Linked DNA regions of Homo sapiens: regions 2 and 3 are each linked to region 1. Evidence: promoter capture Hi-C in 16 types of primary human blood cells and fetal thymus (Javierre and others, 2016). All regions are on one chromosome and are shown on one strand. The core of a region is centred on a gene start or on the middle of the fragment in contact, and the rest is flanking DNA. Distances in the headings are between cores, read along the strand shown.

Region 1 (4,477 bases), core at 1,129-3,628:
TAAGATTGTAAAGACAAACCCAGCATACTTTCTAGAGGTTTCATACACTTCACATATGTAGAGTTCAATTTTCACTTAAATAATTATTATTAATGCTGTGATTAGATATGAAAATAAAGGGCTTTTGTAACATTTACCTAAGAGCACCTAACACCTGCAGTTTTCTCTAAAGCAAAATTAACTCACCTAATTTCACATCCCATAATAAGTACGTTTCTTAAACAGTGTAGAAATGTTTCCATATTGTGACTACAGAAATACTTCTTGTATTATTAGCTAAACGAGTATTAAGATGTTAGGACACAAAATTTAATCTTGTTATCAGCTTTAAATATCCTAGCAAATCTCAAGATTTCCTTTACCCTAAAATGATGTCTCCCAAAGTTAAAGCCTAATGATGAGAGTAACAACAAAAAGACTGCACATAAGCACATTATTCAAATTACTCCTTCTGAAACTGTACTGAAAGTAAGAGTGGTTAAAAACACCAATATAAGAGCATCCAAACACTGAGACACAAAAAATTTGAGTTTTGCTGGCACTTGAAGGCCACAGTCTGATAACAATTGATTAAAGAGGACAAGAAACATCTAATGTTGTTAAATGTGTGGGTGTGGATCCTGAAGATGGCTAACGTTAACAAAAATAAAAAGTAAAAAAAAATCAGGATAAATTCACCGCTGGCAAAGTTCAGTAATTTAACAAAGCTGTATATTATTATTTAAGTCTAAGTGCAACTTCTGGCTATCTCACAGCTAACTCTAAGTTAAACGCTTAAAGTTGGGAAAAACTAAAAGGTAATAAACATGTACCATGGAAGCTTTACAAGTTTTACCAAGTAAAGACATGCTCTGTTTCAACAAGCTACCACACCTTGTTAAATACTAAGAATGTGCTAACAATACAAACTAGGTAGACCTCTGTCTACAGTGGACTTCTTATTAATTACAGGACAATCTAAAAATCAGCTTCAAAAAAGAATCCCCTTGATGTGAATCAGTATCCACCAGGAAAAAAACAATTAATCAAAAACTGATCATTTAAAAATCAGTCACTTTAATTCCCTCATTTTTACAGTAATACAAAGTCAGAACAGGAAAGATACCTACTTGGGTTATATTTTCAAATCTAATAGTCACTGCTCTTAAACTCCAAAATGTACCCGTATCTTCAAATACCCTTGAAATATGCAACTACCCTAAAGAATATTTAGTTCAGAAAGCAGTACAGAAAGGTCTCAATTTACAAGAGAGACAAACAAGCACTGACTTTAGAAAACTCAGGCCAAAACAAGTCAAGGGTATGATGTGCACAACGATCTAACTGAAATGACACATTTTCCTTACTAATTAAATTAGGAAACACTTTTGTGTTCTACTTACACTCTGTAACACTGAAAACACAAACATGTTTACACAAAGGCGATGTTTTTAGCTCGTCTCACTGATGTGTCTCCAACCCTCGTCTCCCCCGCTCCTCGAGATTTGCTAGCTCCGTGAATTTCCCTCGATAGGCAAAGTTTGTCACCGATAATATAAGAAGCGCAAAAGGAATATGTTTTTTAAAATACCTAAACCTTAAAAAAAAAACCCACAAACCCGAACTATTAAAACTTACTTTCCCACCAATGCGCACTTGTGCCTGCAGTTTGGCGAGTTTTTCCTGGTTCATGATTGTTTCTTTCATCTAGAAAAAGAGGAAATCCTCAGCAAGGATAGGTTTAGCTCACTCTAGCATTCCATGCTCGTTATTTCCCAAGATACCAGCAGGAAAATAAACGTCCTACACAGGCCGAAACCTGGATCCCAAATCCACCCCGCAAAGCTCCAAATTTGGGTTTCCAGGGAGCCCAAAGAGCACCCGCCTCCCCACCACTCCCCCACAGCTCCCCGCTCTTGGCAGGCCCGGATGAAAGGCTCTACCCCACGCCTGGCCAGCACCCCCCACCCCTGGCCCTGGCCTGGCCTCGGCCTAGCCAGGGCCTGCCCGGCCCGGCCACTCTCCGCAAGCCTCGCGGTACCTGAGGCTCCTGTCCTCGGGTTCCGCCGCGAGGTGGAGGTTGAGACAGCGTCGCCTCGCCCCCAGGGCAGCCGCCCCTGGCTCGACCTCGCCCCCGAGAGTCAGCCTGAGCGGGTGCGCCTGTCCGTCGCATCGCCTTCCTCTCCTCCTCTGCCCTGTCCCTCCCTGTCTCGCTCCTTCAGGGAACTTCCCGCCCCCGCTCCCGTCCTCCTACCACGCCGCCGTCCAGAGCCTTTTTGTACCTTGTCGGAGCGAATAAGGGGCCGCGCGGGGGACTAGGGTTGGTGCTCAAGGGGTCTCGGGTGGACCACCTGAGATTAGGCGCACACACGCGGGGACGCAAGATGGCAGCTAAAGGGAGGCCGGAAGTGACACAAGGCCACTTCCTTCAAGAGTCAGGAAACTGACTTCGCCGCGAACTCGGTTCCTCCCTGCGCACGCGCGACAGCGTTTGTGATGGTCCAGCGAGTCCCTATTCTCCTCCTCCTGCTCCAGCGGCTGCCGGCTGTAGGCCCTACGAGAGACTGCTGGCTTGGGGCGCAGCCCGTACCTCTGGGAGAGGCCACAAAGGGGTCGGAGAGCGCGGTCCTGTGCACAGTTAGGGTTAAGTCCGCTCAGTCTCCATTGGGCCCTGATCCTGAAGTTCTGTGCCCTCCGAAGAAAGGGCCTATTCACGTTTCCTGGAGACGCCGGAGGTGCCCAGCTTGTGCTCACCACTCAAGCAGCTCTCCCCTTGCTGGAGGTGTGGGTTGGAGAATTGCAGAATTTCCCTCTCGGCCCGAATGAGCCATTACCAAAGCATTTTGTCAAAAATAGTGAAGTTAGTTTGGCCTTCCAAGGTTAGGTGGTGTGGTAGATTGCGGGACCGAGGTTCAGAATTTCTGGGGGCTGTATCCCCGAGCCCCACTCCTCAGAATGCAACTCTGTACGACGAAGGAACTGGGTAATCCGCATTTCAGCCAATTTAGCAGATGACTAACCACCTTAAAACGGTCCACACAATTATCTTGTTTATCAGGCAAAAAAATTGACTCCTAGGTACCGAATTGGCATGGATTTGACAATTAGCGATTCACGGTTAAGCAGACTTTATCTATCTTAATCCAATCAAAGGAGAATTTCTGCCTGCTGTGTTTGGAGAGACAACGCGTGGATGTGAGTTAAACTTTGTTAAACCCAGGACAAGCTTTAAGATAAAACGACTGATATTTAAAATGGCAATTTAAATAAAAATGTTCTCTGATCAGCCTTTTTGTGGTCTTAACCATGAAATGTCTTTGCATATTCAAAAGTGAGTCCGAAATCTTAGAATGCAATGTGTGTAGCAAGAAAACTTGTTCAAGTGCAGACCCCTCTCCAGTTAAGATCAATGTTTAAACTTTTTGAATACTTTTTACATATAAGTTTGTTGCAACTGATGTCTCAAGAACATAACTGGTGAGGACAGCTGTATTGCCTTTTAGAATAATTGTTACAGTTATATTTACAAAAAACAATGTTGCTTCAGTTAAATATGAGTGAAGTTTTAGTACAGGTAAGGGTGTTTGTAGTTAGGCTTATGTGGGTTACCTTCCTAATGACAAAGGCCAAAATGGCAGTACCAACATTATGCTGTGCTCTGGAGATATTACAAAATATATAGAAAGACTCCCCCTTTTGGAAGAAATGTGTATCTTTGTCCAGGAACAGTTTTTTTCCTCTCCTCCATGTTATATTGGAGGCATTTGAAACTTCCTAGTCACGTGATGTTTTCTGAGCTTTTATAGAGACAAGATTGTATGTATGTAACCTGCCACCTTTTTTTTCTTTTTCTTTGCCTTCCCTCTCCTCTGCCCTTTTAATACACCTGTTTTCAGGAAATATTGTGAGCTACTTTTATTTATTTATTTATTTCTACTTTTTGAAACCAGGGATGCTGCTAATTTTATTTTTATAATTTTTTTAAAAAATATAAAACTTTAAAAAAATTAAAAGAGATGGGGTCTCACTTTGTTGCTTAGGCTGGGCTCAAACTCCTGCGCTCAAAGGATCCTTCAGTCTCAGCCACTTGAGAAGCTGAAACTACAGGTGTGCACCACTTTCCCTGGCTTATGACTTTTTAATTTTCCCCTCGTTCCTACTTTTTTCTCCTGTTCTTTCATGAATTTAAAAGTTTGCTGCGTGTTGAAAATATAAAAGATTACTTAATAGTAAAAAAGAAAATTTTGATTTTCTTTTTACGTTCTGTTTTGGTTTGGTTTTTGTGCTTTTCTATTTAGAGATGGAGGTCTTGCTATGTTGCCCAGGCTGGTCTCAAACTCCTGGGATCAAGCCATCCTCCCATCTGGGCCTCCCAAAGTGCTGGTAGTACAGGCATGAGCCACGATACCTGGCCAAAATTTTGATTTTTGACTCCAGCTGCTTCTGCTGGTTTTATGAGTAGTCAGGAAATTCTGATTCTTCTAATAAAATAATTATA
Region 2 (4,477 bases), core at 750-3,249, 2.2 Mb before region 1:
AAGCTAATTCTATGAAGACTCAAGACAGGAAAGGGACTTCCTTCTAAAAGATCATTCAACAGAAGGCTGTGCTTCTGCAACATAAAATAGTACATTTCTTCATCAAAGTTAAACATAAACATTTATATAAAATAGCACATTTCTTCATCAGAGTTCACCATAAAGGTTTACAAATAAAAATGGACAAATGGATCACATCAAGTTAAAAAGCTTCTGCACAGCAAAGGAAATAATCAACAAAGTGAAGAGACAACCCACAGAATGGTAGGAAATATTTGCAAATTACCCCTCTGACAAGGGATTAATAACCAGAATATATAAGGAGCTCAAACAACTCTATGGGAAAAAAATCTAATAATCTAATCAAAAATAGGCAAAATATTTTAATAGACATCTCTCAAAAGAAGACATGCAGATAGCAAACGGGTATATGAAAAGGTGCTCAACATCACTCATCATCAGAGAAATGCAAATCAAAACCACAAAGATATCATCTCACTCCAGTTAAAATGGCTTATATCCAGAAGATAGACAATAACAAATGCTGGTGAGGATGTGGAGAAAAGGAAGCCTTGTACACTATTAGTGGGAATGTATATTAGTACAACTACTATGGAGAAGAGTTTGGAAGTTCTTCAAAAAAACTAAAACTAGAGCTACCATATGATCCAGCAATCCCACTGCTGGGTATATACCCCAAATAAAGGAAATCAGTATATCAAAGATATATCTGCACTCCCATGTTTGTTGCAGCACTGCTTACAATAGCTGAGATTTGGAAGCAATCTAAATGTCCATCAACAGATGAATGGATAAGGGAAATGTGGTACATATACACAATGAAGTACTATTCAGCCATGAAAAGGAATGAGATCCTATCATTTGAACAAAATGGATGGAACTGGAGATCATTATGCTAAGTGAAATAAGCCAGGCACAGAAAGACAAACATTGCATGTTCTCAATTATCTGTGGGATCTAAAAATCAAAACAATTGAACTCATGGGCATAGAGAATAGAAGGATGATTAGCAGAGGCTGGGAAGGGTATTGAGGAGCTGGCAAGGGAGATGGGGACAGTTAATGGGTACAAAAAAATAGAAAGAATGAATAAGACCTACTATTTGATAGCATAACAGGGTGACTGTGGTCAACAATAACTTAATTGTACATTTAAAAATAACTAGAGTGTAATTGGATTGTTTGTAACACAAAAGATAAATGCTTAATGGGATGGATACCCTATTCTCCATGATGTGATTATTTCACATTGCATGCCTGTATCAAAACATCTCAAGCACCCCATAAATATATATACCTACTATGTACCCATAAAAATTAAAAATTTTAAAAAAAATTTTTAAAGAAAAGTCAATAAGCCATCCTCCCACAGGGTTAACAAGAATTCTAGACAGAAATATAATTATATTAATCAGGCTGCACTTTGGCCCACTTCCTTGTAACTGAAAGTCACTAGATACTGACCATTTGTATCCCCACTGTTCCTATTGATAGAATTGCTGACATTAGAATCATAAAGCTTCTGTTTAAGGATTGCTTAAGAAGTTTTTCAGATCCTGAGTTCCAGGGAAACAGTTCAAAGACCCTCACAGAGGAATCAGCATGAGAATACAGTTTCTTCATCTCCCTATCCCATGACTTCACCTTGCACTCTTCAAGCAATCAACGATCTCCACACTTTGGCCCACTCCAAGACCTTTAAAAACCCTAGCCCCAAACTCCTGGGCAGATGGATTTGAGATTTCCTCCCATCTCCTCATTTGTCTGCCCTACAATCAAATCTCTTTCTCTTCTGCAACCCAGTGTCTCAGCATACTGACTTGCCAAATGCACTGGGCAAAGATGGTCATTTACTTTGGCGATACTAATTCATCCTTTTACCAGTTTCTTATATTGAGTGCTAATGGACGGATTCAGGGCCATTTAAATTGAGTTTTCTGTTTCTTATTGCCACACTTATTCCACTAAGACAAGTCACTTGAAGACCTTGCTAATGAAGATTAGTATCTCCATTAATCAGACTTAAAATAGACCCCAACTGGTGAGCTACAAGATGGAGACTATGACCTGGGATCCCCAATCTCCTTTTACCTATCCTCCCACAGACTGTGAAATGAGAGACACATTAAGACACATGCAGGCTGTGTATAGGGAGACTAATATTTTAACTCACACAGTAACTTGTGTGAGATTGGGAGGTACAGATGCTCCAAAGGGGCTGGGAGCGTGGTAGACACAGGATACGTCTCAGAGCAGAAAACACTTTCTGTTTCCTACTAAGCTCATCATGTCTACTCCTCTCCTGCCACCTCCCCATCAATTCCCTAAATTCAATACACTTTTTGTAGCCTCCTCTAAGTAAATAAGCATATCACCACTCCTACCATATTGCCATTTTTCTTTTTCATCGGCATTCAAGATAAAAATACAGTAAGCTTTTTTCTCATTTAGCATTCTTCCTCCTGTTCATTAAATCTGCTAGCCTTGCAACAGTATAGTTTTCTACCATACTGCAAACAATGCTTGCAAACAATGTTTCAGCCCTATTATGGACTCATAATTGAGCTGACCTTGGAATTATAATACTTTCATTTTTCTGTAGGAAAATGCATTTCAAGTTACAAACAATAGATCTGCAATTAAGCTTTGGGACATGTTTATAGATGTGAGGTGGATTGATTGGCATGACCCCTCACACACAAAAGGCAACTACAAAAAAGCAATTAGAATGGTGCTTTCAAAGACAGGAAACAAATTCTTCCACAACATTTCAAATCTGCTTTAAAATACTAGATCTAGCCTCTCTTCCCTTCCCTCCATTAAAAAAAAAAAATGAAAGGGAAGAATGGAGAAAGGAAAGAAGGGTCATAATTTAGAATGCGTAAATTCTTATTACTGAGCTGAATGACCCTGATCTACAAACTCACCCTCAGAAGCCCTAAAGATCCAAGAATACAGCATCTGTATAGTACTCAAACTCAGTAATATTGTTCTCTGAAAAGCTAATTAATCCTGCCTCTCACACCTCATGCTAGATTGTTTTATCAGGAGAAAGAATGCTAAGGGTAAGGAAGTTTTTATATGGCTAGAAGATGCTATTAGAGAGGTTCAAGAATGAGTGTTTATAATTAGGAAAAGCAGAAGGTTGGTGATGAGGGCCAAGAAATGAACTCCCTTCTGCAATAACAGAGCCAGGCCTGTAGAATCCAGAGAATCAAAATACTCTGAATAAGCCCTTAATCCACAGAAAAGTGGTGAACTGCCTCATATGTAGACCACTGTGTCCATAATAACCATCATTTACTCTGCGTTTTTGCCTTATTGATAGGGTCTTTTTCCTTCTGCTCCGCCTCAGTTAAATGGCTCTCAGAGTGTGAAGAGGTTGTAAAAAGACTGTGTAGTCTAACTACAGGAGTTCTACTTGGGACCTGTATTGTGAGCCACTTGGTCAAAATTAATTTACCATGATCTTTGCACACCTTCCTACTTGATATATAGATTTTTTCTTTTGGATATATAGCTGGGTATATATCCAAAAGAAAATAAATTGTTCTTCCAAAAAGACACCTGTACTCATATGTTTGTCAAAGCACTATTCCCAATAGCAAAAATATGGAATCAATCTAGGTGTCCTTCAATGTTGGGTTGGATAAAGAAAATGTGGTACATCTACACCATGGAATACTACACAGCCATAAAAAAGAATAAAACCATGTCAGCATGGTGGGCTCATGCCTGTAATCCCAGGATTTTGGGAGGCCGAGATGGGAGTATCACTTGAGGCCAGGAGTTCAAGACCAGGCTGGCCAACATAACAAGACTCCACCTCTTAAAAAAAAAAAAATTAAAACTTGTCCTTTGCAGCAACATGGATGGAGTTGGAAGCCATTATCCTAAGCAAATTAACAGAGGAACAGAAAACCAAATACTGTGTGTTCTTACTTATAAGTGGGAGCTAAACATTGGGTGTTAATGGGTGTAAAGATGCAACAATAGACACTGGTGGACTACTGGCAGGGTGGGGAGAAAGGGCTGAAAGACCATTGGGTACTATGCTCACTACTTGCATTATGGGATCATTCATATCCCAAACCCCAGCATCATGCAATATACTCATGTAACAAACCTGCACATGTACCTCCTGAATCTAAAATTAAAGTTGAAATTATATTTTTTTAAATCAAATTTTTAAGGAACATCATGGCAGCCTCTACCTAGATGTAGGCACTAGTAACAGCCCTGTTCCTAAAATCTGCACCCATCTCCACTCCCACTTCCGATCTCTCTCTCTCTCTCTCACTAGATTTCCAGCTCAAAGATAGCAAACATAGATCCCTCTTGGTCTAAATTCCTCCTTCATAAAATGAAAGTAATAGACTAGACTGTGGTTGCTACCCTGGACAAGAGTCATCAGTGTTAAAGATCCCTAGAATGAGGAATGTTCTCTTAAAGTCCCA
Region 3 (4,477 bases), core at 613-3,112, 2.0 Mb before region 1:
TGCCAAGCCGAGTAGGTTGGGGGGCACTGCGGACGCAACTCTTTCGACAGAAGCTGGAGCGACTCAGCTTGGTGTTGAAATTTGAGGTGTTGAATTCTGCTAGGTTAGATGTAGTGAGACAGATGAATGTGGAGGACTTTCTCCCTCACCCTGTACCTTAGTTCAGAATAGAGATATTGAATCGGCACATGATGGGTACAGGAAATATTCATAGTAACTTGGAACATGTGAGAATGGAGACTGATCTTTAGTCCAGGAAGAGCATTACTTAATAATAAAATATTTTTGCGGTAAGGGGTCGAGGGTAAGGAAAAGATGTTTTATCTTTTATATATTTTTTAAAATCCCTGTATCAAAATTTTAGCAAAGCAGTCATTATAGGACTGCAGGTGGATGATCTCTTGATATTACATAGTTGTGGGGATTTTTTTTTTAAGTTTTTGCTGTAAGAAGATTCACGTAGCCTTTTTGACTTCTCTCTCCCTTCCTGTTAAACTTTTTTAGACATGGCTGGAGCTAGCAGTTAACTTGGAGAGGGGGAGCTGGGCCAGTCCCTCAACAAGCTGGTCATAAGATACTATGTCATGTGCAGCCAGTGGCTATTAAGAAATCACCCTGTTTCCAGTATTCATATTTGGCAAATCACTTGGACATTATTTGTGGAATTGTTTCATATTAGGCTTTTATAATGTCTAGAAAGCTAATGAGAAGGGGGCCAGGAAAGGCATGAGTAGTCAGAACTAAGGATTGCAAGTGTTGACTTTTATTTGTATAGCAGCAAAATTATGTTGTATATTGATGCTGTGATCATTCTTGAAATTTCAGTGCAAGGTTTTCAGTAACGAGAAGCTCCTCAGGATTTCTTTAGATTAAATGTATCCTGTAATTTAGGAATCTCTATTGAACACATTGTGTAGTAGGTATACATTTTCAGTTGGTAATAGGAAGTGGGTTACTTGCTTCTCAGTGATTTTGGTAGTTTCATCACTGCTCATAAGATGGGAAGCTGACTGCCATATTAGTATTGTGATGTGTTAAGTATTTTACGAAACAAATTGTACTTTTGACCTACTGATAATTACTTTTTTGGGGGTTGGGGGAGTGGAGTGACCGGGGGAAAAAGTAACCAGTGCTCTGGAGTAGGTATACTATAGATAAAAAAATGGAAGACCAATCTCGATATTTAAATGCATACAAATGTATTTGATCACCTCTATGGAAGGTGAATAGCTTAAATTTTGACTGTTGCTGCATATGTAGAATGAATAGGAATAAAGCTTTTGGTATTCTTGCTCAAAGCTATGAAGGAAATTTTCCTGAGATTTACCAATTTATGGTTATATACAGTTTTCTGGAAGCTTTTTAATCAAGGGTATTCTAAATTGAGTATATATACTCATACTGAGTATGGTAGATGTTTTTAAATGTAAATTATATAGTTTGAATTCTTTGTATTCACCTGGTAATTTAAACAAAGGTCAGAACTCGGATTTTGTTCTTTTCCTTCCATTGAGTAATGTAAATAAGTCCCGGTACAATTCATTTTGTTTCTCCCCCAAAATGGGGTGGATTTGGAATGGGCTTGGGTAAATTTATATTAGAAATATACCAGTTCAAAGGGTATTTTCCATATGGTAATCTGAAATACATGGAAATACCTATGAAGCATATTTCTTATAAATCACTTAAGTGTATAGATTCCAAAAATACTAGATAGACAATAATTCTATCTAGTTATAGCAAGTATCGTGATGGATCATGGTGGGGAAAAGATGCATGCCTTAGTAGGACTTGAGAGCACCTAAGCCTGGATAAAATAATCTCATTCAATTTCTGAATTTCCTCCATCCTTCATGGTTTACCTTCTGTTTTTCCACACACCAAACTGTTTGAAATTCTGTCCATCCTTAAGAGTCCAAGCCAAATACTGTCCTTTCCATAAAGCCTTTTCTTATTTTGCCATCATTCAAGACCTCCTTCACTTGAATTCCCATAGCATTTTGTTTGTAGCTTGCTTCTGACTCTTATTCTAAATATATATTTTTTTCTCTTGAGTTTGTGTCTGCTGGCCTGTTGGCCACAGTAATATTTGATTCCCCTGCAGTGTCTAGCATATTGCCTTATCTGTATTTGTTAAATGGGGAAGAGTGAGGGAACATTATGAGAGCAGAGAAAAGACAAAAAACTTGTCTTCCAGGTGTCATGATACAGCTAATACTTACTGAGTAAAGGGTCCTGAAGCTGATACAGTTTGTTCAGTCTCTTATAAGAACTAATATTAAGTTATGGATACATAATTGCTGGGGCTTCTCCTCTAACATTGAAAGAGTTCTATTCTAGTGAGAAATGCTGAAGGTTAAGCTTCATTAGCTATGTATAACTCTTCCTCAGATTCAGAAAATACTATGTCCAGGCACTGTTCTAAGTCTATTCTTGTTTAAACTTAACTCTAAGAGAATTTGACAAAGAAAAAAAGAACACAAAGAGAATAAGTAACTTGACCACTGTCACAAAGTTTAGCCTTATGAAGTGTGGTAATTGTAAATGAGGTAGGATTAATCCATGAAGGGTCTTGAATGCCCTAAACAATTTGTATGACAGTCAGTGGGAAGTTGTCCATGTAAGTTTTGGAGCTAGAGACTCAATACGATCAATGTAAGAAAAGTAGGCAAATATGCTTAGTAAGTAAATAAGCTTGTGTAAATTATGAAAAAAACAGAAGATACTAGAGAAAAAATTATTAAGTCTCCTAAGGAATACAGGAACTGGATAATTTGATTGGAATAGTTGAAAATGAGAAGAGGAGGCAAATTTAAGGGTTTACTATGAAGGAAAGATGAGCAGCTTTTGGTAATGGGCTATAAATATTGAGAAGGAACACTTAGGTATTGAGTATCTTCTGTGACTATGCTAGGCATTTTCATTATTTTATTCGGCCGTCAGTCAACAGGCAAAGAAACTGAAGTTTACAAAAGTAACTTGTCAAAACTCTCTTCACATGAGTTATAAAATAGTTGAGCCTATTTTATCCTATATCCACTAATCTGTTTGTATATCTAATACACTAACTCTGAGCAGAAGTAGCAGTCTCCCCAAGGAAGTAGGAAAATAGGAAGGAAGTATACTTTATAGGAAGGTGAATTCAGTTTTATTGGTAACTATCATTTATTTCAAGCCCGTGTCTAAGTGGTGGTACATCTCAAGCAGTTAGAAATAAGGAAATGGTGATTGGGAGCCACTAGAATGAGTTAAATGTTGGCTTGGGTGAGTTCTCAGAGAGTGGTTGTAATGATGGGGCTTAGAAAAATTAAGAACTGGCTAGGGATGGTGGCTCACCTGTAGTCCCAGCACTTTGGGAGACCAAGGAAGACAGATCGCTTGAGCCCAGGAGTTTGAGACGAGCCTTGGCACCATAGCGAAACCTCATTTCTACAAAAAATTAGCCAGATGTGGGGGTGCACACCTGTAGTCTCAATCACTTGGGAGGCTGAGGTGGGAGGATTGAGCCCAGGAGATTGCGGTAAACTGAGATGGTGCCACTGCACTCCATCCTGGGTGACAGAGCGAGACCCTGTCTCAAGAAAATACTAAATAAAAGAAAATTTAAGAAGTGAATCAATCTCAAAAATGCTTAATTAGAGAACAGAAAAATAAAAGATTTCTCAGTGGATATAGAGCCTGAGCCAATGCAGTATATTTTGGCAATCCATTTTTAATTAGTTTTTGGAATTGGCAGATAGTTTTTGAGATTTTTCTATACTTAACACCCCAGAGCATAGATAAAAACATGCAAAAATAAGTATTCCTGTAAAGGTTACATTTCTGCCTTTTCCAGTTTATTGTGATCTTCACTTTGCAGCAAGACTTTAGCAACACAGAAACTCTTAAGGTATTGAAGACAATCCAATATGTTTTTGAAAAGCAATTTTATTTTTGTTTTATTACTCTTGAGTTTGAAAAATGCATGTTCAGAGGAACTTGGAAAATGTATTGGCCATTTTTAATATTATTCAGTTCTGTAGAGGAAAAGTTAAAGTTGATGCCAGCTTACTAAAGATTATTATTTTTATTTTGATATAGTTACAGCTGTTATAAATTTTCATATAGGAATAACAACAAAAGTAGAGTTTAGCAATAATTGACTTTATACTTCCGTTGATTTAGAAGGCTTCATGCAGTCTTTGGTGTCAGAATGAGAGACTACATACATAACTGAACATACTTCTCTGTTGAATATGTTAATTATGACAAGGACCAAAACAAATATCATGAAGGTACTTAGGAGAGGATGAAAGCATACGAAGAATAAACAATAATTTTAACCAAAATCTGGCTTTCGTTTTATTCTTCAAATGTTAGAAGAAAATGTTATATTTTATTTCTTACAGATTTATTTATAATATTGTAAAAATTACTGAAAATCATTATGCAATCTAGAAAATCTCAACTTTTCACTTTTTGTAATCATTTTACTGTT

The links. The method cuts DNA at HindIII sites, captures the fragments that hold promoters and counts their contacts. A CHiCAGO score of 5 or more calls a contact.
Region 2: a contact is called between a fragment that was not itself captured here and the fragment with the promoter of BTF3 in region 1, in 1 of 17 cell types (fetal thymus). The highest score is 6.5, in fetal thymus.
Region 3: a contact is called between a fragment that was not itself captured here and the fragment with the promoter of BTF3 in region 1, in 1 of 17 cell types (fetal thymus). The highest score is 6.4, in fetal thymus.

What each region holds. Positions count from the first base shown.
Region 1 is chr5:73,496,343-73,500,819 of GRCh38, reverse strand. BTF3 (basic transcription factor 3) reads right to left here and starts at 2,378. Exons shown (of 6, transcript NM_001037637.2): 1 at 2,021-2,378; 2 at 1,618-1,686. The coding sequence starts at 2,152. It overlaps BTF3-DT (BTF3 divergent transcript), which reads left to right and starts at 2,500. Exons shown (of 1, transcript NR_186388.1): 1 at 2,500-3,267. RefSeq lists a silencer at 1,894-1,943 and enhancers at 1,580-2,390, 2,154-2,453, 2,484-2,543. The HindIII fragment of the contact is 2,385 bases long and covers 823-3,207 here.
Region 2 is chr5:75,722,804-75,727,280 of GRCh38, reverse strand. All of the region lies in intron 2 of LOC441087 (a long non-coding RNA gene), which reads right to left. Among named protein-coding and RNA genes, the nearest start is that of POC5, 7.6 kb to the right of the region's middle. The HindIII fragment of the contact is 916 bases long and covers 1,542-2,457 here.
Region 3 is chr5:75,506,248-75,510,724 of GRCh38, reverse strand. All of the region lies in intron 1 of CERT1 (ceramide transporter 1), which reads left to right. Among named protein-coding and RNA genes, the nearest start is that of CERT1, 3.1 kb to the left of the region's middle. The HindIII fragment of the contact is 1,003 bases long and covers 1,361-2,363 here.